7 separate regions of the Homo sapiens genome follow, and regions 1, 3, 4, 5, 6 and 7 are each linked to region 2. Evidence: promoter capture Hi-C in 16 types of primary human blood cells and fetal thymus (Javierre and others, 2016). All regions are on one chromosome and are shown on one strand. The core of a region is centred on a gene start or on the middle of the fragment in contact, and the rest is flanking DNA. Distances in the headings are between cores, read along the strand shown. Region 1 overlaps MED6 (mediator complex subunit 6). Region 2 holds the start of MAP3K9 (mitogen-activated protein kinase kinase kinase 9). Region 3 overlaps PCNX1 (pecanex 1). Region 4 overlaps TTC9-DT (TTC9 divergent transcript). Region 5 overlaps PCNX1 (pecanex 1). Region 6 overlaps PCNX1 (pecanex 1). Region 7 overlaps PCNX1 (pecanex 1).

Region 1 (3,315 bases), core at 104-2,603, 220 kb before region 2:
TGATCACTAGTCCAACATTTTGAGGAACAACTTAGCAATATGGACTAAGAGCAATAAAAATGCAGAGACTCTAGTGATTCCACTTCTGGAACTCTATCCTAAGGAAATAAATACCAAACACTGAAAAGGCATTATACAAAGATATAATCACAGCAGTCTTATATAAAATAATGTAAACTGGGAAAAATCCCAAATATAAGACAGAAAGAAAACTGAGATACAATCATTTACAGAAATTCGGACACTAAAACAGTCTATAAAAACTACATAAACATGGGGAAAAGCTTACAACAGATATAATAAAGTAAAATTGTACGAAAGGAATGATTAAAGTACAGTTTTAAAAGCATCTACATGCAGCAAGCACACTCAGCCCCCTTGCCATGAGATACCCTGTGCTGCCTAGGGACTTTGCAGACTTCCTACCAGCAAGAAGGCCCTCACCAGATGGAGCCAATCAATGCTGGACTTCTCAGCCTCCATAACTTTAAAAAAAATAAAATTCCTTTTCTTTATTGAAAAAAGAAGTATCTACACACAGAATAAGATTAAAATTCACAACACTGTTACAGTATTTATAGGGTAATGGTATTGGTGAGTGAGGTTTTTCCTTTTCTTCATCTTCCAAAATGTCAGCAACTGTTTATTTTAATACTGAGGATTATGTAACTGAACAAAAAGAAATATGCTTAGTTACTACTTTAACATCCTTTATGTCTTCAAAGTGCATCTGAAAAATATCAGTTATGATGAAGAAAAAAGTCATGATGAAGCAATATATACAAATACCTTTATTTTGCTTTTAAACATATCTACCAGTAAACATGTGAGTGTGTAGGTTGCTCAAGTCCGGGAGAGGAAAGGTTACAGAAGACATATAACAAATATTCACAAGAAATCATGATGGGAATAATATCTTTTCTTCTTTTTTGAGACAAAGTCTCGCTCTGTCGCCCAAGCTGGAGTGCAACAGCATGATAATCAGCTCAGGGCAACCTCCACCTCCCGGGTTCAAGCAAGTCTCCTGTCTCAGCCTCCCGAGTAGCTGGGACTATGGGCGCCCGCCACCACGCCCGGCTAATTTTTGTATTTTTAGTAGAGACGGGGTTTCACCATATTGGTCAGGCTGGTCTTGAACTTCTGACCTCAAGTGATCCACCCGCCATGGCCTCCCAAAGTGCTGGGATTACAGGCGTGAGCCACCACATCCGGCCTAATATCCTTTCAAAAAATAAGCGCATTCCATACAAATAAGAAGGTTACAATAAAGTACTTCAAAGCTCAAGAGCCACAGTACTGAGGTATGATAACTAGCATGAGGAGTCTTCCAGGCTTCTCTTTTGTCCAGTACTCACTGAAGTCTCATCCGTTTTTCAGGGGGGCCTTTAGCACTCACTGTCTGTTGTACATTCTTTGTGGTCTCCTTCTCCTCAGGTTTTACAGTTTCTGGTATAGGTTCTGCCTCTTTCTTTGTTTGATCCACTAGATATCAAAAGTAGATTTTTTGGGAGGGAGATATGGGTGGGGGGAATGAGATAAATGGTTAATATGAATGGCTCACATTTTCAAATTCATTTTTAACTGCTTATCTCAAGTTCTAGATCTAGCTGTTTCCCCAGGCAGATGTATACAAGAACCCAGTTACAAACCTAACAACCTGAAAACTCAAGGAAATTAATGATACTAGACAAAACTACATAGCATTTAAGTAAGACAGTATGTAAAAACAAGATATATAATTATTCTAACCCAGTACCATGATGGTTCAATACCTGTTTTCAATAATGTAACAGAAAACATCATTGTGTAAAAATACAGATTTGATGAAGAAACCTCGAATCACAGTGGCTTCCTCACACCTCCTCAATACCTACTTTTTCCCTCCCAATTCATCTTTTCACTACCACAATCACTACCACAATGGCACCACCTGCTGACAGTTCAGCAGCTCTCAAAGATTAAGAGTAAAAAACTACAATGGGAGACTCTAGAACAAGACTGTTCAACCCACCGCCCACGGGCAGCATGAGGCCCAGGATGGCTTTGAATGTGGCCCAACACAAATCTGTAAACTTCCTTAAAACATTATGAGACTTTTTTTTTTTTTTCAGCTCATCAGCCATCATTAGTGTTATTTTATGTGTGACCCAAGACAATTCTTCTTCCAATGAGACCCAGCCCCAGCTCTAGAAGGACAAAATGACCACAGCTCATTTCACATGCTATACTTGTGATTGATTTACAAGCTGTTTGACCTTATTTCAAGCGTAATAAGAATATTACATGAACCATACCTGGAACAGGCTTTTCTCCAGGCTTTAGCTATAATTTTTTAGAAAAAAGGGAGGGAGAGGAAGAGGAAAAAGAAGAAAACAGGTCAACTTGGCAAAATTTCTTCTTCCTGATGTCATATTAATAAAATGAAAGCTTCATCCAAATTACATTTCAAATGACTTTGTGAAGAAAAGCTACTATGTATGTACTATAAAGTAAATTTATCATTTTCTACTTCTTATTCCCCATTCCAGAAAAGACACAAATCAAAAACTAGAACAAGATAGTCAACCAACCATAAAAACACTTGAACATTTAACAAAGACTTCCACCTCCACACCCAGGCTACAATGCTTTATAAAAAGCAGTTCAGTAGAATCCAATGGGAAGAAATAATAAGTCTTTCAATACCCCAGAGTCTTATTTCCTTAGGGGTTATGACTTATGGGAAGGGAGAATGAAGTATGGATGAACCATGACTTTTAAAGTTGGTAGGCATGGGAAATTTGGAGGGAAAAGAGATTTCTGATGAGTCTATTATTAAAAACCAATCTATAGGAAAAAAAGATAAGAGCATTAGAGGTTAGAAACAAGGTCAGGTCCTTCACTCTGCAAGCAATTCTTTCACTTGATTAAGCTCTGTCATCTCCTTTGCCCCATTCCCCAAGTTAAATGCTCTACGACATTCTTGTCTTCTTCTACCCCTCATCCGATGACACTGTCTCCCATGTTTAAAAACAACAACAACAAAACCAGGATGCCAACACCACCAACTTCCTTACCATCTACCTTCAAACTTATTATAACTTTATATACATATACACATATATATTTAAAATACCTTATTACTTCCATATCATCTTAGAAGAAAAAACAGTCTCTTCACTTCTAATGCCTCCATCTGTGTGCTGAATCTTTCTGGATTTACATGCCCTCCCTAGGCCTTCTTACCTATTCCCACTTCTAACTACAAAATTTTCTGATATTACATGTTCCAGGTTCATGCTGACAACTGCCAACTATCCTACTCCAACTGCAAGT
Region 2 (3,214 bases), core at 577-3,076:
ATACCTTTTTAACAGATAAGAGATTATGGAAACTCTCAAATACAAAATAGTGTAAACTGCACTAAAGAGATATTTACATGTTTTTTTCTGAAATAAACTAGTATGATTAAGGGATTGTGATGGCAATTTAACTCCCTTGAAAAAAAAAGAAGATTTCATTATAGGGTATGAAATATGGGGCTCCTGGAAAATTGACGGAAACCAGGACACTGGGAGAAAGGCCCTGGGAGGGACCCCTGAGCATGGTCCCCCTGAGATTTGACCAGTTCCAAAGATAGGCAAGGATCTAGAATGAGAAGAAAGAAGAAAATGTATTTCCCAAACAGCCTCACTGTCAAAGGACTGGGATTCAGCCACTGTACCTTGCAATCCTGATCTCCCATGGGGGAACGACATACTTTTTCCTCTCTAATCATCACTTGTCTCACCCCCACTCTCAACACACACATCCCTCTTAGCACATTAATCAGTGAGACTCCTAAAGGTACAACTTCTGAGATATAAGAAATAGGATCCAAGAAATCAACCCGACATTTTACAGGCAACTGAGCCTTGAGTTCACACATGCTTCCGGGACTTGTGAGCCAGCTCAGCCCTGCGGAGACACCCCCATCTCTTTGAAAGCAAATGCCTTTAGGAGGCGGGGACAGGCGTTAGAAGAGGTGGTGGCAAGGTCCCTGATTTGGGGACTAAGGCTAGGACACTAACCACCATCTTGCCATAAACACTTCCAGATTGGGAATGGGGGGCGGCGGGGGGGTGGGTAAGAGAAGGGACTGGGAAACTGGCAAATTCTCAGACTGGGACTTCAGGATGTGGAAATCGGGAGCCACTGCTGAGGTGGCCAACTGAAGGTGAAGAAGCCCAAGCGTCTGAAGTGCGGGCAGGGCCTGAGGCGTCTCGAGCTTATCCAGCAAGCAAAGCCCGGGCAGCCTAAGCGCGCGCCACCCACACCCAGGTCAATCGTCCTCCCCACCCCCCGCCCTCATCCCAGCCCTCGCGCAGTGCTCCCCCCTTCCCCGACCGCCCCCCAGGCCTCCGTCATTCCCCCTCCCCGCCCGGCCCCGCCTTCGCCTTACACTGAATGGGCGGGTAGCAACTGGGGTCCTCGCCGCCGGGCTGGCAGCGGCTGGAGAAGGCGCTGCGCGGGGTCACGTAGTTGCTGGGGAAGATGCCCACCCGCTGGTTCAGCTGCCCGGTCCACCAGCCCTCGTCGCCGGACACCTGCGAGTCCTTGGACAGCACCTCCACCACGTCGCCCAGCCGCAGGGTCAGCTCGTCCTCGCCCGCCGCCTCGTACTCGAACACGGCCGTCCAGTAGGGCAGCGGCGCGTCGCAGCCCAGCTCCCCGGGGCCCACCGCCGCCGCCGCCTCCTCCTCCTCCTCCTCCTCCTCCTCGGCCCCGGCCCCTGCTCCATCCTCCCCCGGCGGGGCGGCAGCGGCGGCGCTCGCTAGGCAGCCGAGAAGCGCTCTGGAGGGCTCCATGGAGCGGCCGATCCATAGGGTGCGGGGCCGCCGCCGCCCGCAGGAGCCGCCGCCGCCTATTGTTCATGCGCCTCCGCAGAGCTGGGAGGACCCCCCCCCAACGACGGCGGCCGCAGGTAGGGCCCGGGCTGGCAGGGCTGGGAGAGCCGGCTCGCCGGCGCTGTTACCGCGGTACGAGAAGAGCGCCGAGCGCGAGCTCTTCGCGCAGCCTAGGGGCGCAGCGGGCCGAGTCCCCGCCTGCCCGCTCGCCCCCCCGGGGGCGGCCTCGTCACCTCTGCCGCCGGTACCTGCTCGCGCAGCCGGTGCCCGCCGCTGCCAGCCGGCCGCCGCTCTCCTCTCCGCGCCGTGCCGTGCCCCGCCCCCCGCACCGCCAGCTCGCCGGGACCACCTGACGCGGGCCTGGCTCCGCCCCAGCCCTGCGGACCCCAGGGGGCTCCGCCCCACGCCCGCCCCGCCCCGCGCCCGCTGCCTTCCCATTGGCTGCGGCCGCCCAGTCCCCGGTTCCTCCGCCGTGGTTGGGGCAGCCTAGCTGGCCGTCTCGCAGGTCCCTCTCACCCCCTGCGCCGCCGTCGCACCGTGCCCTCCCCCATTGCGGGCTCTGTCATTCTCAAACCCAGGTCGACCCACTCTTCCCGCCCACTGGCCCGCCGCAGCTCCCTCCATTGGCTCGCGGCACCTGTCCGTTTCCTGGGAGAGTTCAGCACCTCCCGGCAGGAAGAGGCTCCGGCCTCATTGGGTGCGTGAGAAGGGAAGGGTGGATCCTAAAAGGTAATACTGAGCCTTCATTCAAACTAAAAGGCTGGAAGGGAGGCAGCTGCCTTTGTTTGCCATGGATGGGTAGGGGCTGCACTGAGCAGCACCGGTGTTCTTCATCCGGCTGCACCCCCAACAGAGCTCTTTCTTCCCCAGATCCCTTTTACAGTTGGATTCTCCCTCTTGGATCTGGCTCTGCCTTAGTCCGACCTAGAGGGATCAGCTTCGCCCACGCCCACTCTCACCCGGAACCTTTCATCTCTTATTGAAGCCTTTTAGGCCCATTGGGATGTTCATTAGAACTCTGAAAACTACAGTTCTCCCCTTTATGAGGACTGCACCACAGCTCGCCCTCTCCTGGGTTCCGGTAAGAAGAGATTCCAATACCACTCTTTTTTCAGAATTCAGAAAGGCAAGAGACCACCTTACTGAGCTTCAAACTGGGGCTGGGAACGCTGCCATGAATTGGGCTTGGTCTGTCTGAAGGGAGCCACCTTTTCGACAATCCTTAGACTTCTTTTGCCTGTTGGAATTACACCTTGGATCGTGGCGAAGTCTATAGAGGTCAGATTAAGAAGAACCAAAGCAGAATAAACGTAGAACCCGATGCTGAGTTCACGAGTGAGGACGACCTCTTCCTATATGCTTTGCTATACCCTGCGTTTTGAACATTAAGGACGAGATAGGAGGCCCATAATGTTTCTTCTTGCTTTAATCCTGTCGTGGCAACGTTGACTTCCAGTAAGAAAGGTTCTCTGATCTTTTTTTCTCTTTTCTTTTCTTTTCTTTTCTTTTCCTTTCTTTTCTTTTCTTTTCTTCCAGGGTCTCAGTTTGTTGTCCAGGCCAGAGTGCAGTGGCGCAATCTCGGCTCACTGCAGCCTCAACATCCTAGGCTCAAGCCATCCTCCCACCTCACCCTCCCGAGTAGCTGGAAGTACAGGCTCGTCTTGAACTCTGGGCTGAAGTCATCCACCTG
Region 3 (3,451 bases), core at 630-3,129, 200 kb after region 2:
GATGTCAAGAATGCAACAGGCTGGGCGTGGTGGCTAACACCTGTAATTCCAGCACGTTGGGAGGCTGAGGCAGGAGGTATCACTTAGGCCCAGGAATTCGAGACCAGCCTGGGCAGCATAGCAAGACCCCCATCTCTACAAAAAAGTTTTAAAAAGTAAGCCAGGCACTGTGGCGTGTGCCTGCAGCCCCAGCTACTCAGGAAGCTGAGGTGGGAGGATCACTGGAACCTAGGAGTTTGAGATTGCAGTGAGCTATGATTGTGCCATTGCACTCCAGCCTGGGTGACAGAGTGAGTCTCTGTCTAAAAAAAAAAAAGGGGGGGTGGGGAATGCAATTGGAGTTTCTTAGGTGAGTACTGTTCTTAAAATTCTTGATGTACTCAACTTCGTTTTGTATGGTGAGGATTTTTACTGATAGGGTAAGTTAGAGAATCCCATTCATTTCCCATGTCTTTTATCAGTGTCTTGTGAATGTTTATCAGAATTTGCCTGCTGCACCATTCATGGCTCTAGGCAAATGCTTCAAGTATCCTTGGTGTTAAGTGAGTATCCAGTTTTACTCATCTTCCTGTTGCTCATCACTTATTCATTGACCTATAGTTGTTACTTTGAAATATTACTTCAAAAGAATGGTTGTGTGTAATTAACAAATTTTATGAACAATAACAGTCACTATTGAGTATTCAATAAGACTGCTAAGAAATACTAGGTATCTTAACTTTTTTTTTTTTTTTTTTTGAGACAGGGTCTCACTCTCTTGCCCAGGCTGGAGGGCGGTGGCATGAACACAGTTCGCTGCAGCCGCAACCTCCTAGGCTTAAGTGATCCTCCTACCTCAACCTCCCAAGTAGCTAGGCCCATGGGCACATGCCACCACACCCAGCTAGTACGTGTGTGTGTCTGTGTGTGTGTGTGTGTGTGTGTGTGTGTGTGTGTGTGTGTGTGTGTGTGTGTGTGTGTGTGTGTGTAGAGATGAGGTCTCACTATGTTGCCTGGGCTTGTCTTGAACTCCTGGGCTCAAGCAGTCCTCCCACTTTGCCTCCCAAAATGCTGAGATTTACTGGCATGAGCTACTGCGCCTGGCATATCAGCTTTTTGTGTATGTGTCTTTAGAGATGCAGTCCCTTGGCCAGTATAATTTTTACAAGTCTGAAATTCCAGTTTCTAATCGTGTTTATTTTGTTAGAAACTGATTTTTTTTTCTCCTTAAGTCATGACAGAGGCATTCTATCAGGTATAATTAATTGGTCACAGTTGAATCATGATGAGATGGCTTAGTTTATAATCCAAATTCATGTGAGAAGGACATATTTCTTTGCTCTGCTTTCTACTCTGTTTATTAGAAAAAATTAGTATTGAAGTATTTTTCTTAAGGCAGAATAATATTAAAATAGGGGTATTGTAACGGCATATTTTACTTCAGATCTAAAGTTTAAATATGATGGTTTTAATCTCAAAAGAAATAGTAAAATTGCTGTGTATGCCAAGAAAACTTGTACAAACGTAATCTTCATAAACCAATAGTAATATATATTTATTTCTGGTTGGTTATTTTTTAAGCTGCCTTCAGTAGGATACATTAGCACATTAAATTACATTTAGTAATTTCTTTTTCTGGTGTGTTTATCTTCAGAGTAAAATTTGGTACTTCTAAAGTACATAGACTTGTTCTTTTGGAGTGAAGTTGGGACTACACCATGAGGCCTTATTACAGTGTTAGTTTGTTCTGACAAATGCCATGCGTATTTTTAAGAACCTAAACATGCTTCTGAAGCTTAATAGACAAAAGCCTCTTAAGGAAAAAAAGAAAAGCACTGTTGAAGTCATGTACTTCTGTTAAAATCATAGCCTCTCTTTTAGACATATTTATGCTTCTGCTTACATTTTTAGATTTTATTACTTGTTAGTAATTTGGATAGAATCATTCAGAGTTGTAAATTCAGGTAGTAATAGAACTACTCAATTTTTCCAACTGTCTGTTTAGAAAAGCTTTTTTTTTTGCATTCTTTATGTTTATTTATTTAAAATGCAACTATTTCTATGTAAATTTAATATTAGATATTTATACATAAAAGACAACATGGTAGTATAATGACATCATATTCTTTTACTGTTTCATTTGAAAATTACAAAGATAATATCTTTAGTTGATTTTGTCACAGATACATATTATTTTTAATATACCAAGAACAGAACTTATATATTAATAAAAATCCTTTGGAAAGCTTGAATGCTGAGAAATACTGCAACAATTTAAGTTCTATTGAATACAGAATTAACTTATTTCTAAAATATGTATAAATTATGTTATGACAATACATTTATGCATTCTGTTCTTACTGAGTTTCATATGCAGTAACCAAGCCCTCTTTGCTCTTTGTTAATCCATGATTTAGTCATTTAATGTAGTTAACAATAATTCTGCATTTATGTAATCCATGATTTTGAGCAGATATTTCTTTTTTCTCTTAATCTAAGTTTAATTATGATAGCAGCACTAATCATTGATTATCCAATAAATGAATACAGAACAGAGCATTAAAAACTGCAATTAAAATTTTTTTAATTTTAAGTGAGCCGGTATTTTTTATTTTTTTTTCGGTAGCAACTTCTGTAATTCACCCTACCACTTTAAAAAAACTTTCAGTGATACATCTATGAAGTAGCCAAGTTGACGGCTTGTATCATTTCATTTTAGCTCATTAATCCAGTTTCTATTAGAGGTGCTAAGGATGAATGACTTATGACTAAAAGATGGGGGTGGGGAGTGTCTTAAATAATTTACATGCTGAATAACCTTGAAAAAAGACAGCAAATGACCTGAGCATTTCACAGAAAACCTTTTTTTCCCTAACTTAGGAGTATATTATTCGACAAAAAAAAATGTGGCTACAGAAAACAGCATAACTTTTATGATCCATAGAATGTACTTAAATAATTCAAATTGTTGTTTTTTTCCTGGTTCTAGTCGTTTTAAAGAATGAAGTAATGCTTGAGATGTTCTGTAAACTCTTAGTCATATTAGTACATTATGGAGTCCTTTTATTAGCATTTTTTCAAGTATTTCACTTAAATAAAAAGCCCTTATTGCACACTCTGCATTGTAGGCATGGGAAAATCTGACTTTTAGCCTTACCATCAAGTCAACATTGACCTTTAAGATTCCTGTTTTGGCCGGGCGCAGTGGCTCACGCCTGTAATCCTAGTACTTTGGGAGGCTGAGGCAGGTGGATCATGAGGTCAGGAGATCAAGACCATCCTGGCTAACACGGTGAAAACCTGTCTCTACTAAAAATACGAAAAATTAGCCGGGCGTGGTGGCGGGCGCCTGTAGTCCCAGCTACTCGGGAGGCTGAGGCAGGAGAATGGTGTGAACCCGGGAGGCAGAGCTTGCAGTGAGCCGAGATTGCGCCACTGCACTCCAGCCTGGGTGACAGAGCGAGACTCTGTC
Region 4 (3,145 bases), core at 577-3,076, 180 kb before region 2:
CAGTCAGATGTTAAAAAAAATTACACACCATAGCCCAGTGGGATTTATTTCTGAAATGTAAGAATACTTCAACATATAAAAATCAACCCATGTAATACACCACTTAACAGAAGGAAAGGGGAAAAACACATGATCATCTCAATGCAGAAAAAGCATTTGACAAAATTCAACATACTTTCATGATTAAAAAAAAACTCAACAAACTAAGAATAGAAGGAAACTGCCTCAACAAAACAAAGGTCATTTATGAAAAGCTCACCGCTAAATCATACTCAGTGGTGAAATACTGAAAGCTTTTCCTCTTAGATGAGGAACAAGACAAGGATTTCTACTCTCTCCATTTCTATTCAACATAGATTGGCAATCCTAGCCAAAGCAATTAGGTAAGAAAAAGAAATAAAAGTTATCAAAATTAGAAAGGGAGAAGTAAAATTACCTCTGTTCACAGATGACATAATTTTATACATAGAAAGCCCTAAGGACTACACACACACACACACACAGAGAGAGAGAGAGAGAGAGACAGAGAGAGAGAGAGAGAGAGAGAAAATCTATTAGAACTAATCAATAAATTTAGCAACATTGCAGGATACAAAATTAACACACAAAAGTCAGTCGCATTTCTATACACTAACAACAAACAAATTCGAAAAGGAAATTAAGAAAACAATTCCATTTATAATAACATCAAAAACAAAAAAAATTAGGAATAAAATGAACTAAGAAGGTGAAAGACTTGTACACTAAAAACTATAAAACATTGCTGAAAAGAGTAAAGAAGATAGAAATAAATAGAAAGGCATTTCTTGTTCATGGTTGGAAGGCTTAATATTATTTAGATGTTCCTACTATCCAAAGCAATGTACAGTTTCAATGCAAAGGCTATCAAATCCTAATGGCATTTTTTGTAGAAATGGAAAAATCCATCCTAAAATTCATATGGAATTTCAAGAGACCTCAAATAACAACAACAAAAAAAAAATTGAAAAAGAACAAATTTGGAAAACTCAAACTTTCTGATTTCCAAACATATTATAAAGCAACAGTAATCAAAACAGTGTGCTATTGGCATAAAGACAGACAAAACAATGAAATAGAATATGGAGCCTAGAAATAAACTGTCATGTATACGGTCAAATGATCTTTGACAAGAATGACAAAACCACTCAATGGGGGAATGACAGTCTTCAACAAATGGTGATGGGAAAACTGGATATCCACATGCAAAAGAATGAAGTTGGAAACCTGTCTCACACTATATACAAAAATTAACTCAAAATAGATTAAAGATTTGAACATGAGATTTAAAACTATAAAACTCTTAGAAGAAAACATAGGGAAAAATCTCTTAACATTAGTCTTGGCAATGATTTCTGAAATATGACCCCCAAAGCACAGATAACTAAAGCAAAAATAGACAATTGGGATTACATCAAACTTAACTTTTGTGTATCAAAAGTCAGAATCAACATAGTGAAAAGGACATCTATAAAATGAGATAAAATATTTGCAAATCATTATCTAATTAGGGCTTAATAGCCAGAATATATAAAGAGCTCCTACAGCTCAACAACAAAAAATCAAATAACTCAACTAAAAATAGGCAAAGGACTTGGATAGATATTTCTCTAAAGATGATATAAAAATGACCAGCAAGCATATGAAAAGACGTTCAACATCACTGTTTATCTGAGAAATGCAAATCAAAACCACAGTGAGATATTACTGAGCACCCAGTAATATTTAGCTACTAGCCAAAAAACAAACAAAAAAAACCTTAGAAAATAATGAATGCTGATAAGGATGTGGCGAAATTGCAACACTTGTGCACTGTTGGTGGATTGTAAAATGGTGCAACTACTATGGTAAACAGTATGGATTTTCCTCACCAAATTAAAAATAAAGTTATCATATGATCCAACACTCCAGCTTCTGGGTATAAATCCAAAACAACTGAAAGCAAGGTCTTGAAGAGCTATTTGTACCCCCATGTTCACAACAGTACTATTTACAATAGCCAAAAGGGGAAAGCAATCCAAATATCCATCAACAGATGAACAGATAAGCAAAAGTATTACATACAATAAAATATTATTCAGGGCTGGGTGCAGTGGTTCATACCTGTAATCCCAGCACTTTGGGAGGCCAAGGTGGGTGGATCACAAGGTCAGGAGTTTGAGACCAACCTGGCCAACATGGTGAAACCCCATCTCTACTAAAAATACAAAAATTAGCTGGGCATGGAGGCACACGCCTGTAATCCCAGCTACTTGGGAGGCTGAGGCAGGAGAACCCAAGAGGCAAAGGTTGCAGTGAGCCGAGATGGCGCCACTGCACTCCATCTCGAAAGACAGAGTGAAACTCCATTTTGAAAAAAAACAAAAACAAACAAATAAAAAACTGCCTCGCCTTACACACTGAGGTAGTATTGTAAGGATCTAAATGAGGCTAAAATGCTTGATAAGCCACAAAGTACTAGATGAACTTATGTCATTATGAATGTGGCACTCATACTGGCCAGGCGCGGTGGCTCAAACCTGTAATCCCAGCACTTTGCGAGGCCGAGGCAGGCAGATCACAAGGTCAGGAGATGGAGACCATCCTGGCTAACAAAGTGAAACCCCATCTCTACTAAAAATACAAAAAAAAACTAGCCGGGCGTGGTGGCAGGTGCCTGTAGTCCCAGCTACTTGGGAGGCTGAGGCAGGAGAATGGTGGGAACCCGGGAGGCTGAGCTTGCAGTGAGCCGAGATCGTGCCACTGCACTCCAGCCTGGGTGACAGACTGAGACTCTGTCTCAAAAAAAAAAACAAAAAAAGCAAAAAAACAAAAAAAAAACCCAGAAAGAAAGAAAATCATTGAGGAGAAAGGATATCTGCCTGAACAGGTTTTTAACGCAGATAAAAGTGCCCTATTTAAAAATTAAATGCCACAAAGGACATTTATTAGTAAGGAAGGGAAGTGAGCACAATAATTTAAGGCAGGAAGGGATAGGCTAACTCTACTGTTTTATGGAGATGCAGATGGGTTTATAATCATGACTGCCCTTACCTATAAACCTGCTAACCCCTGAGCCTTGAAAGGAAAAGATAACACCAGCTGCCAATCTTTTGGCTGATAAGAAGGCCTGGATAATGAGAACCCT
Region 5 (3,507 bases), core at 842-3,341, 240 kb after region 2:
GTGTCCTACCAGAGAAAAGTGTAAAAGAGTTGACAAAGTAAAAAGAAATTAAAAACATTTTTAATAGCTGTTATTAGTTCAGATTTGCAATAAAGTATAAAAGGATGGAAAAGAGGCTAGTTCACTTGCCAAGCTTTTTCCTTACCACTGTAAACCCTGACATTTCTTTCCTGTTATAAGTATTCAGTTCTTGTTCATTGGCCCCATTATCTGTAATATATTGTACTTCCTCATTTTAGAGAAATAATAAATGTTCATACCTGTGTCATAATTTATTATATACCAATGATTAAATAAGCCAACTTTTTTCTCACACTTTTTTTTTCAGTTAGCTAATTACTGTAGAGTAAATCATTCAGTTGCTTGAAGATAACTTTTTTAGAGAACTCTGAAGCCTTTGAAAGCTTCCTAATAAATAAAAATGACATGAAGCTGCATAAGAATCTTTATTGGCCCATTTATACCATCAGGAAAATAACTCAGAATGAGATATGTTTTTAATGGTGAACTATTACTGCTTTCATATATAAATGATGACACATACCTAGTTTGTTTTAAAGACCAACACTTTTCATTAAAATAAATTATTGATCTTATTTTTTAAATCTTAGAACATGTAGTCTACAAATTTTGAATCAGCATATCATTTTGACATTTATAGTACTAACAGCAAAGTTGTTTTTTTTTCTGGTACTGATTTTAGCAACTGAAAGAAAAAATATTATTTCTTAGAGAACTTCCTAAAGCCAGGTGATGCTATTTTCAGATAGCCAAAGAACCATGTTTTAAATCTTTTAGTTTATCCTAGACACTTTCCCCAATGAAATAATATTGTAGCATTGGAAAAAAATATTATTGGCAATGAAAGCTGCTCTTAAGTATGTGAATTCAAATCATACCATATTTTTATTTATTTTGGGTGGAAAGAGCAATCTAATGATCTTCAGTAATCTTTTTTCAATAAGTTATAAGCATAAATGAGAAAAGTTATGGTTAAAAACTGAGGTTTCAAGAATTAAAGTTGGAAACTCATCTAAATGTTAAATCATGTCTAAGTTGCAAATTTGTAAGTATCTCAGAGCTCATAGAAGTTGACAGTTGATTAAAGTACTGGCTTTTTAAAAACAGTTTATTTGTAGTTTGGTACTAAATTTGTTGTAAAATTTTTCTTTCTCATCACATTGACAAACTATACATTTGATGACATGTAGTCTTGATTTATACTGCCTTGTTAGATGCAGCCACTATGATGTGGTTTGAGAAACTTCATGTGTGGCTTCTTTTTGTGGAGAAGAATATAATCTATCCATTGATTGTTCTCAATGAACTGAGCAGCAGTGCAGAGACAATTGCTAGTCCAAAGAAACTGAATACAGAGTAAGTATAGTAGTCTTCTAATATTGTCTGACTACTGGGGGCTGTTATAAACAATGTCTTAAGTTGTTGATCAAATATTAAATAATTGTTTCCTTCATGCAAGGCACTGTGAGATTAAAAATTTAGGTGACATTTTGTCCTTGACTTACCTTTTTTAAACATTTGTTTCTGCTGTTGGCATATTCTGTACTCCAGACATCTCATTGTCAATTGATATTTTATGAGAGGACATTTTAAAATAAGGTTAATTTTTAATATTATGTGGCTATTTTGATGCACTATGTAACTTACACCATATAGATGGTCAGTTGCCTCCATAGTCATCCGATGAGCCTGCCCAATAGAGTAGGTACCTATTGTTGAGTCAAGCATTAATATGTTTTTCATTTGCTAAATGCAGTTGGTGTTAAAGTAATAGAAATATTGAGAAACTAGAGAATCAGATGTCAGAATTACAATACTATTATTTTTAAAACATAGTCCTTCATATAAAGGATAAGAATCATAATGAATAGTATTAAAAGGGAATAGTCAGATACTTTCAGGATGTGATTTACCTAGCTCTATACATCATTTTTGGAAGCTTACATTTAATGTATATATTATAAGCTTAGTAAAGTAAATGGTGAATTTTATTTTAAGTTACTGTCTCTTCTAATGTTTTCAGTCATGAGTTGATTTGTGTTTTCTTTGTGCCACAGATTAGGTGCTTTAATGATCACTGTTGCTGGTTTGAAGTTGCTACGATCCTCTTTTAGCAGCCCTACATATCAGTATGTTACAGTCATCTTTACTGTGCTGTTTTTCAAATTTGACTATGAAGCTTTTTCAGAGACCATGCTGTTGGATCTCTTCTTTATGTCCATACTCTTCAACAAGGTAATTTATCACTGAAAGGAATATCCTTATCTATAAAAACTATCTCCCTGGGTTATATGCTAGTCAGAATTTTTCTTATATTTCATGTGATTTATTATTGTTTAAGTAATAACTCTCTTCAACCAGTTATTTAGGAGCACATTAGAATCCCTAAACAAAGATAGTCACTGTGATTTATAAAAGATATATTTCTTGCTATAGCTAAGAAGATAAAGTTACATAAAACAATTAGAGAAACATTAATAAGTATATTTTAAAATATATAGAATCTCTCAAAAGGTATATAGTTTTGAATAATTTTAGAAACAGAAGTGGTAATAATTGAATTGGGCTCTGGCATAGCCCAATGAAGCAGGTAGAGGCTGAGGAGACTGAGGCTAGGTGGGAGCAGTCAGAAATTAGCTTGATGTGATATTTGCAGAATACTCTGAACTTTATAGGCTTCTGCTAAAATTCATTATCCACCCATAAGATAGATGTTCTAGGCCTTTTACAAATAAGATGGTAAAACCTTGGTCCTCTGCCTCCTAACCCAAGAATCTTTTTGCTGAATCACACTACCTTTCTCAGTGAAATAGGCTGTACAGTCAGATTATTTGTCAGTGAAATAGTAATTCAATTTCATGTTAACACTGACCACATACAAAGGACTTTGACATACATTATCCCATTTGATAGGTAACAGAGAGCTGAAGCAAATGAACAGCTACAAAACACAATGAAATTCCAGTTTTAGGGAAGTTAGCCTGGTCAGCCACATTTGGCTTCATTTGGGGAAGAGAGAACCTAAAGGTACAGAGAACAGCTTAAGCGATAATGACAGTAATTCAGATGTGATAGTAGTCTGATCTAGGATGGGGAACAGTAAAAATGGAAAGCCGTTAATTTGAGCAAAGTTTCATTGATAGTCAATTTCAGTATTGTGATAAATAGCTTCTAAAATATTTCAATATTATATCTGTTCAGTCACTAATTTGTATTTTTATCATTTATTTCCTCTTCTAGTGAGTATGGTTATTAACCAAAGGAGGAAGCCAGAAAATTAATCAGAGAATTGTATAAAGAAGCATGTGGTTTCCCACAAACTCAAATATTTAGATTGAAAATTGTATTTCATCTTATACTGGTTGGAAAAAAGTGAAAGTTGCAGTAAAATATAAAGTAAATAATCTTTGAAATGTAGTTGCTACACTTAACTCTGCATTAGTTTGGATTTTCTTAATACTTTTTATTTGTTAAATATATTTTTTA
Region 6 (3,100 bases), core at 228-2,727, 170 kb after region 2:
ATACTATTTTTTTCTATAATTTCACACATTATTCTTAAAGTTTATTAAATTCAGATTTGTAGTTTATATTGACATTTGGTATCCATTAATTGATGTAAGATGCCCCCATAATAACAGTGATGGTGTTCTGGTTAAAGTAATAGCTTATTTATTTCAGGTTTTTGGAGAATTGTGCAAATTTGGATAGGTGATTTTATATTCTGTCAGTGTGTGTTGGCCTCTTTATTTCAGAGTTATTTCTTGCTGTGTTCTTCTGCCCAAGATAGTTTGTTTATTTGGTTCTGGTTTTTATGGAATCTGCTTCTTGAATAGAATCAGAAAAATCAGGTCTTTTGTTGTTAGTACCTTAGCATTTTTAGCCTCTACCCCTATTCCCTTTATTTATGCTTGTATCATTAGTTTTAAAGTTATAGTCTGTTTGATACAGTAATGTTCAGTCATTTATTAAAAGTTAAGCTGGATTTTGTTTGTACAAACATTATGAAACATATGAATATATGCTTTTTCTCAAAGATGTTAATTTCACCCGAAGTATTTTAAAAGTCCATATTGTGGTAAACATTTTCTTAGATTTTTTTGGGGGTCAAGTTTCTAGCCAGATTAATTTCTAATGGGAACGTAAAGAAATTTTCTAGTACCTAAAGAAGAATATAGTTTATCAAACCTAAATATTGAGAACTAATTATATCTGAAGTGGTTATAACCATTTGGTGACAGTAGAGTAATTAAATTCCCTCGAGTCTTTGACCTGGATATAGTTCTCTCTTTTTTTTTTTTTTTGTAAACAACCTGAAATGCTTGTAGTGATTTCTCACACAAATCATATCAGATATGTTCACAGTATGCAAGAAACCATTGGATTTTAAAATATAGCTTAATTTTTAAAGTTATCAAAATGAATTTTAAGTCAACATGCTATGATAGAAAAATATTGCTGTTCTGAATATTGTGGAAATGTAAATACTGAAAAAATGTGTACAAAAATATGTAGTAAATTCATGCGTTTATATTTAAAATGTCATTTCCTTTTCATGGGGACTGTGAGGTGTTCTGTTTTTTAGGAAAAGTTACCTGAAAGGTGTTATTTGCTTCTCGGTGCTGTTCTTTAAGCTATATTAGCCCTTGTTTTTCTAGGCTCTAGCTTTTGTTTTCTTTTGTTTGTACTGCTTTTTTTTAATTTAAATAACTCAATTAAATGTTAATAAGAGATAATGAAATAAAAATATCTGCTTTGGTGGAAGAAATGTAATAGTCTGTGGGCTGTTTAAAAACATTTTTTTGCCTGGGGCAGGCATTGCACAGGCTTTTTTAATTTGAGCTTCATTGGGTTTAGAATACAAATAAGAGCAAAACTAAAGCACTTAAATGTGTTGGGGGTTTTTTAATTGGTTTTTATCATAACTAAATATAGGGGTTTTGTTGGGAGTTTACTTGGGCTTTTTGAAAGGTTGGAGGTGGTAGAAGGGGATTTGTTTTGGTTCTTATTATTTAAAAATTACAGAGACTCTCAAATACTGTTTAAAGATACTTGTTTATGTTAACATTATCTGTTACAGTCCTGTCTGACAATTTAGAAGAAATGTTTCTGGGCTATCCTTCCTTACATACTGTACTACTGAAACCTGTCAACCATCATGTTACTGCTTGGCCATTCATATACCTATGCATAAACCATAGGTAGATTTTATCCTAAAGAATATGAAGGTGTCGATAAGTTCTCCAACGATTTCTTTTCATTTTATTTTAAGGTAGGTGGTGGTGGTAGTGTAGAGAGATGGAATTTAGGAAATAGACTTTAAAGTACTAAAATAAAGTATGCTAAAATAGGAGGTAATCTAGTTTAGTGACATGGAGTCAGATACCTTTGTTAGTATGTGGGCTCCACTGTTGTGACTCTAGGAAAGCTACTTACAAACCTCAGCTTCCTCATCTTAAAATGAGATGATTATAGTATCTATCTCATAGGGTTGTTGTGAGGACTAAGGAGTTAAGTTCCTGGCACACAGTAAATGCTTACTAGTGCTGCTGTGACTGTTCAAGGCCAGTTAGTTATGCTGCACAGTGTAGCCTGTCGTTTAACCTTACTAATTCAGTGGTATAAAATTAAAGTAGAAGAAAGTGATTAAATGTAGAAATAAACTAGAGATAGTCTAAGTGTGCCATTGTGAAACTCAATAGTAAAAATAAAAAATTCTGATTCCCTAGTTTCTTACATAATGCCAATAGGAAAAACATTTTTATTAACATCAATTTAGTGACATGGACCTTATTTTGGCAGTAATATGTCATATAACATCTTTTTTAGTCACGTAACAAGTGATTGTTTTCATACGTCCTGTCATTAGTCAAGTTCTTTGGTTAAAACTGAATTTCATCAATAATGGTTTGTGATTACTGAGACAGGAAATATGTTTTAAGTTCAAACTAAGTCATTTTCTGTTGATCTCTTGTTTTGTACTTAATTTTTCTTTTTAAATTATAAGGCATATCTTTATGACTAATATTTTAAGAAATGAAAACTACATAGAAGCTATATGGTAGAAAAATGTCCTGTGTTTTCTAGCCTGTATTACTTTTAAGGAAGTCGTTTTCTTTTGGACCGTTTAAACTTATTTCCTGTGTGATTCAATACTGTTGTTATAGCATATTTTCTGTGTCACTTAATGGATTACAAAGAATAGCCCGAGTGGAGAGGTTTGTGTTTACTTACTATTCTTTGTGCTTTTTTTCTGAATTGTTTAACTTCTATTTCTCTGTGAAATTTATTTTAAATATAATGTTTGAGTCACTATTCTGTAAGCATGAAATAGGATCCTAATATAATATTGTGTTGGGAACCAAAAATAATCTTCAAAGAAACAATTATTTAAAGAAAAGTCAGATCTTTTCAATAAAAATTTATGAGGGTTTGTGCTATACACATAAATTGAAGGTGTGTTATTTTGTACCCAGATATCATTGAGCATTAGACAGAAGATAAAGACCAGTAAACAGACAATAAAATGCAAATTGTAGCTTTTGTACTTTACTAAATAGAAGGACTCTCAAGTCTAATAAACTTAATTTTCTGATTTCCCAGTTCACATGGAAAGTTAGAAGC
Region 7 (3,274 bases), core at 90-2,589, 140 kb after region 2:
CATGCACCACCACGCCCAGCTAATTTTTGTATTTTTAGTAGAGACGGGGTTTCATCATGTTGGCCAGGCTGGTGCTGGACTCCCGACCTCAGGTAATCTGCCTGCCTCGGTCTCCTGAAGTGCTAGGATTACAGGTATGAGCCACCACACCTGACCTTTTTTGATATTATTTTGATTATTCTCATGCATATACTTACTTTTGTGAGATATCTTCATGTGTGCTTATCCTCCAGAAAATTTCGTTAGAATTTTGATGACAATTCTATTAAATTGTAGAAACTCAACTTTTAAAATAGGGATATAGATGAGAGATTTCCATTTATTTTCTTATGTTTTTATTTATCATCTCTTTATTCACTTATCTTTTATGTCTTATAACCTTTCACATTTTTTAAATGGTTTCTGTACATTTCCTACGCCTATTCTATTTCTGTTAAGAAATGCATATTCGTACATTGTGGATAAGTGGACAGAATGTAGACTTCACACTCAGTCAGTCAAGGCTTCTTAATTGTAAGACATTGGAGAAGCTACTTAAGCTTTTGAGTTGGCTTTCTTGTCAGAATGATGAGGAAAATAATGGAACTCTCTCATAGGATTATTACAATGAATAAATGAAATAATATATAGAGAGTTCTTAGAATAATTCCTGACACATGGTAACACTTGATAATTGTTCTAATTATTTCTGGATATTATATATATTTGTCATTGCTTCTGAATTGTTTTTTCCATTTTCTTTTACTTTAAAAATTTTTTATTGTGAAATATGTATTCCAAACACTAAGTTAGCAATAATCAAGTGACTACTTCATTACCTACCACACAGCTTAAGAAATAAAACATTATAAAAATACCATATAAGCTTCATGACATTCCTCTCCCATTTCATTCCACTTTTCCCTTCAGGAGTAACCATAATCTTGAATTTTTTGTGAATAACTCCCTTGCTTTTCTTTATTGTTACACACTCTTCGTAGATATTCCTGAATATATTTATTTATTTTTGTCTGCTTTAGGACATCCTAAGAGAATCATACAGTATGCATTTCTCTATGAGAGATTTTTTTTTTGCACAGTATATTATACTTTATTGACTCACGCATGGTGATGTTTGTAGCTAGAGTTTATTCATATTGACCTACATGTAGTCTGCCACTGTAAGAATAGACCATAGTCTATTTATTCATTCTTCTATTTATAGCCATTCAGATTATTTCTAGTGTTTTTTGTCTTGTGGTACATGTGTATATCTAGTTTATGTAAGCTGGTTTATAGGGCATTTTCATGTTCAATTTTATCAGGCAATTCCAAGCTGTGTGCCAAAATGATTTTACCAGTTTATACTCTCACCGGTAGTGTATGAAAGTCCTTATTGTTCACATCTTCATCAACATTTGATATTGGTAAACCTTAAAAATTTTCCATTCACTTAGCTATTGATTTGGGATTTAAAAGAAGAAAATTGGCTGGGCAAGGTGGCTCCTGCCTGTAATCCCAGCACTTTGGGAGGGAGAGATGGGAGGACAGCTTGAAGCCAGGAGTTCCAGATCAGTTTGGGCAACATAGTGAGACCTTGTCTTTACAAAAAATAAAAAATAAAAAAAAATTTTAGCTAGGTATGGTGGTGTGCACCTGTAGTGCCAGATACTTGGGAGGCTGAGGCAGGAGGATCACTTGAGACCAGGAGTTCAAGAGTTCAGTGGGCTTTGATCACACCACTGCACTCCAGCCTGGGTGGCAGAGCAAGACCCTGTCTTGAAAAAATTTGCCATTCATGAAATGTAAAAGGTGTCTCATTGTGACTTTCAGTTAAGCTTTCTGATTACTACTGAGGTTAAACATTTTATTTTTTTATATATGGTCCATTTAGGTTTTTTCTTTTTTCCAATGCTCATTTATGTTTTGTTTCATTTTTCTTTGGAGCTGTCTTTTTCTTAATGATTAATAGGAATTTTTTATTTTTTTATATATTCATGCTATTCCTTTATTAGTTATGTATATATTACAGTCATCTCCCACTTGTGGCTTGTCATTTTGCTTTCCTTAAAGTTTCTTATGATTATCATATACTCTTAAATTTAGAACAATGAAATTTACCACTTTTTAGTAATCAGGTTTTTTGTTTTTTGTGTTTTTTTCTTTCTTTTTTTTTTTTTTTTTTTAATGAATTGGAGTTTCACTTTTGTCGCCCAAGCTGGAGTGCAGTGGCACAGTCTCAGCTCACTGCAACCTCTGCCTCCTGGATTCAAGCTAGTCTTTTGCCTTCCCTCCTCAGTAGCTGGGATTACAGGCATGTGCCACCACACCTGGCTAATTTTGTATTTTTAGTAGAGTTGGGGTCTCACCATGTTGGCCAGGCTGGTCTCAAACTCCTGACCTCAGGTGATCCACCCGCCTCAGCCTCCCAAAGTGCTGGGATTACAGGCGTGATCCACGCGCCTGGCTAGCATTTTTGTGTCTGAATTATTTTCTACACGGAGATCAGAAAGGTATTCTGTATTGTCTTTTTGAAGTTTCATGTTTCTTTTGTTTTCACATTTCAATTCTACCCAAAGCTATTTAAGTCTGTAGTATCAGGTAGGTTCTTAAGGCTTATTTTTTTCTTTATGAATCTCTGATTTACCCAGTATTTGTTAAGTGGACTATCTTTTCCTTAGTAATTTGCAGCAGTCTCTATGGCATAAGCTAAATTTTCATTTCTGGTGGCTTGTTTCTGGGCTCTCTGTTCTGTTCTGTTCTGTTCTGTTGATCTGCTTGCCTGTGCCATTACCATACCATCCTTATCAGCTTTAAAACATGACTCTTGATAGCCAGTGGGTTAAACCTCCTACCATATTCTTTTTTAGGAGAGACTTCGCTATTCTTGGCTCTTTGATTTTTGATGTAAACTTCAGAGTCTGCTAGAGAAAGTCTATAGGAACTTGGTATTTTTATTGGAGCTACACTAAATTTGTAGGTCCCTCTGCTGAGAATTTGCATCTTTACAATATTGAATCTCTCCATTTATTTAGTCTTTTTAAATACCTTTCAGTAATAGTTTTTCATTTTCTCCATTAAAAGGAAATTTATGATTTTATAGTATTTATGCTAGTATAATTTTGTTTTTCCCCCTAAAATGTCGCAGTTTATTTTGTGTCTAGCAATCTTATTAAACCCCCTTATTAATGATGTTCCCTTGTCTATATGATCACAATTATTTCTTACTTTCTAGTCCTTATACTTCTTGTTTAATTTTTTTCACTGGCTATGATATGTAGCACATGGTTAAATT

The links. Contacts are between HindIII fragments. The CHiCAGO score rates a contact against its expected background, and 5 or more counts as called.
Region 1: a fragment that was not itself captured here is called in contact with the fragment with the promoter of MAP3K9 in region 2 in 1 of 17 cell types (naive CD4 T cells); the score reaches 6.0 in naive CD4 T cells.
Region 3: a contact is called between a fragment that was not itself captured here and the fragment with the promoter of MAP3K9 in region 2, in 3 of 17 cell types (total CD8 T cells, non-activated CD4 T cells and naive CD4 T cells). The highest score is 8.7, in total CD8 T cells.
Region 4: a fragment that was not itself captured here is called in contact with the fragment with the promoter of MAP3K9 in region 2 in 1 of 17 cell types (naive CD4 T cells); the score reaches 5.8 in naive CD4 T cells.
Region 5: a contact is called between a fragment that was not itself captured here and the fragment with the promoter of MAP3K9 in region 2, in 1 of 17 cell types (naive CD8 T cells). The highest score is 5.2, in naive CD8 T cells.
Region 6: a fragment that was not itself captured here is called in contact with the fragment with the promoter of MAP3K9 in region 2 in 6 of 17 cell types (activated CD4 T cells, naive CD8 T cells, total CD4 T cells and 3 more); the score reaches 7.1 in activated CD4 T cells.
Region 7: a fragment that was not itself captured here is called in contact with the fragment with the promoter of MAP3K9 in region 2 in 6 of 17 cell types (activated CD4 T cells, non-activated CD4 T cells, total CD8 T cells and 3 more); the score reaches 8.1 in activated CD4 T cells.

Annotation. Positions count from the first base shown.
Region 1 is chr14:70,583,462-70,586,776 of GRCh38, forward strand. MED6 (mediator complex subunit 6) reads right to left here. Exons shown (of 8, transcript NM_005466.4): 7 at 2,295-2,322; 8 at 1-1,482. The coding sequence ends at 1,352. Among named protein-coding and RNA genes, the nearest start is that of MED6, 16 kb to the right of the region's middle. The HindIII fragment of the contact is 2,143 bases long and covers 283-2,425 here.
Region 2 is chr14:70,807,687-70,810,900 of GRCh38, forward strand. It overlaps MAP3K9 (mitogen-activated protein kinase kinase kinase 9), which reads right to left and starts at 1,827. Exons shown (of 12, transcript NM_001284230.2): 1 at 1,080-1,827. The coding sequence starts at 1,485. It overlaps MAP3K9-DT (MAP3K9 divergent transcript), which reads left to right and starts at 1,098. Exons shown (of 2, transcript NR_184164.1): 1 at 1,098-1,601. RefSeq lists an enhancer at 389-448 and a silencer at 1,389-2,028. The HindIII fragment of the contact is 10,628 bases long and covers 1-3,214 here.
Region 3 is chr14:71,005,203-71,008,653 of GRCh38, forward strand. All of the region lies in intron 8 of PCNX1 (pecanex 1), which reads left to right. Among named protein-coding and RNA genes, the nearest start is that of PCNX1, 99 kb to the left of the region's middle. The HindIII fragment of the contact is 215 bases long and covers 1,773-1,987 here.
Region 4 is chr14:70,626,335-70,629,479 of GRCh38, forward strand. The region is part of intron 2 of TTC9-DT (TTC9 divergent transcript); the gene reads right to left. Among named protein-coding and RNA genes, the nearest start is that of TTC9-DT, 13 kb to the right of the region's middle. The HindIII fragment of the contact is 3,070 bases long and covers 292-3,145 here.
Region 5 is chr14:71,045,729-71,049,235 of GRCh38, forward strand. PCNX1 (pecanex 1) reads left to right here. Exons shown (of 36, transcript NM_014982.3): 21 at 1,236-1,377; 22 at 2,079-2,256. Among named protein-coding and RNA genes, the nearest start is that of PCNX1, 140 kb to the left of the region's middle. The HindIII fragment of the contact is 214 bases long and covers 1,985-2,198 here.
Region 6 is chr14:70,979,199-70,982,298 of GRCh38, forward strand. All of the region lies in intron 6 of PCNX1 (pecanex 1), which reads left to right. Among named protein-coding and RNA genes, the nearest start is that of PCNX1, 73 kb to the left of the region's middle. The HindIII fragment of the contact is 3,810 bases long and covers 1-3,100 here.
Region 7 is chr14:70,951,519-70,954,792 of GRCh38, forward strand. All of the region lies in intron 2 of PCNX1 (pecanex 1), which reads left to right. The region is part of intron 1 of LOC105370557 (a long non-coding RNA gene); the gene reads right to left. Among named protein-coding and RNA genes, the nearest start is that of PCNX1, 46 kb to the left of the region's middle. The HindIII fragment of the contact is 952 bases long and covers 864-1,815 here.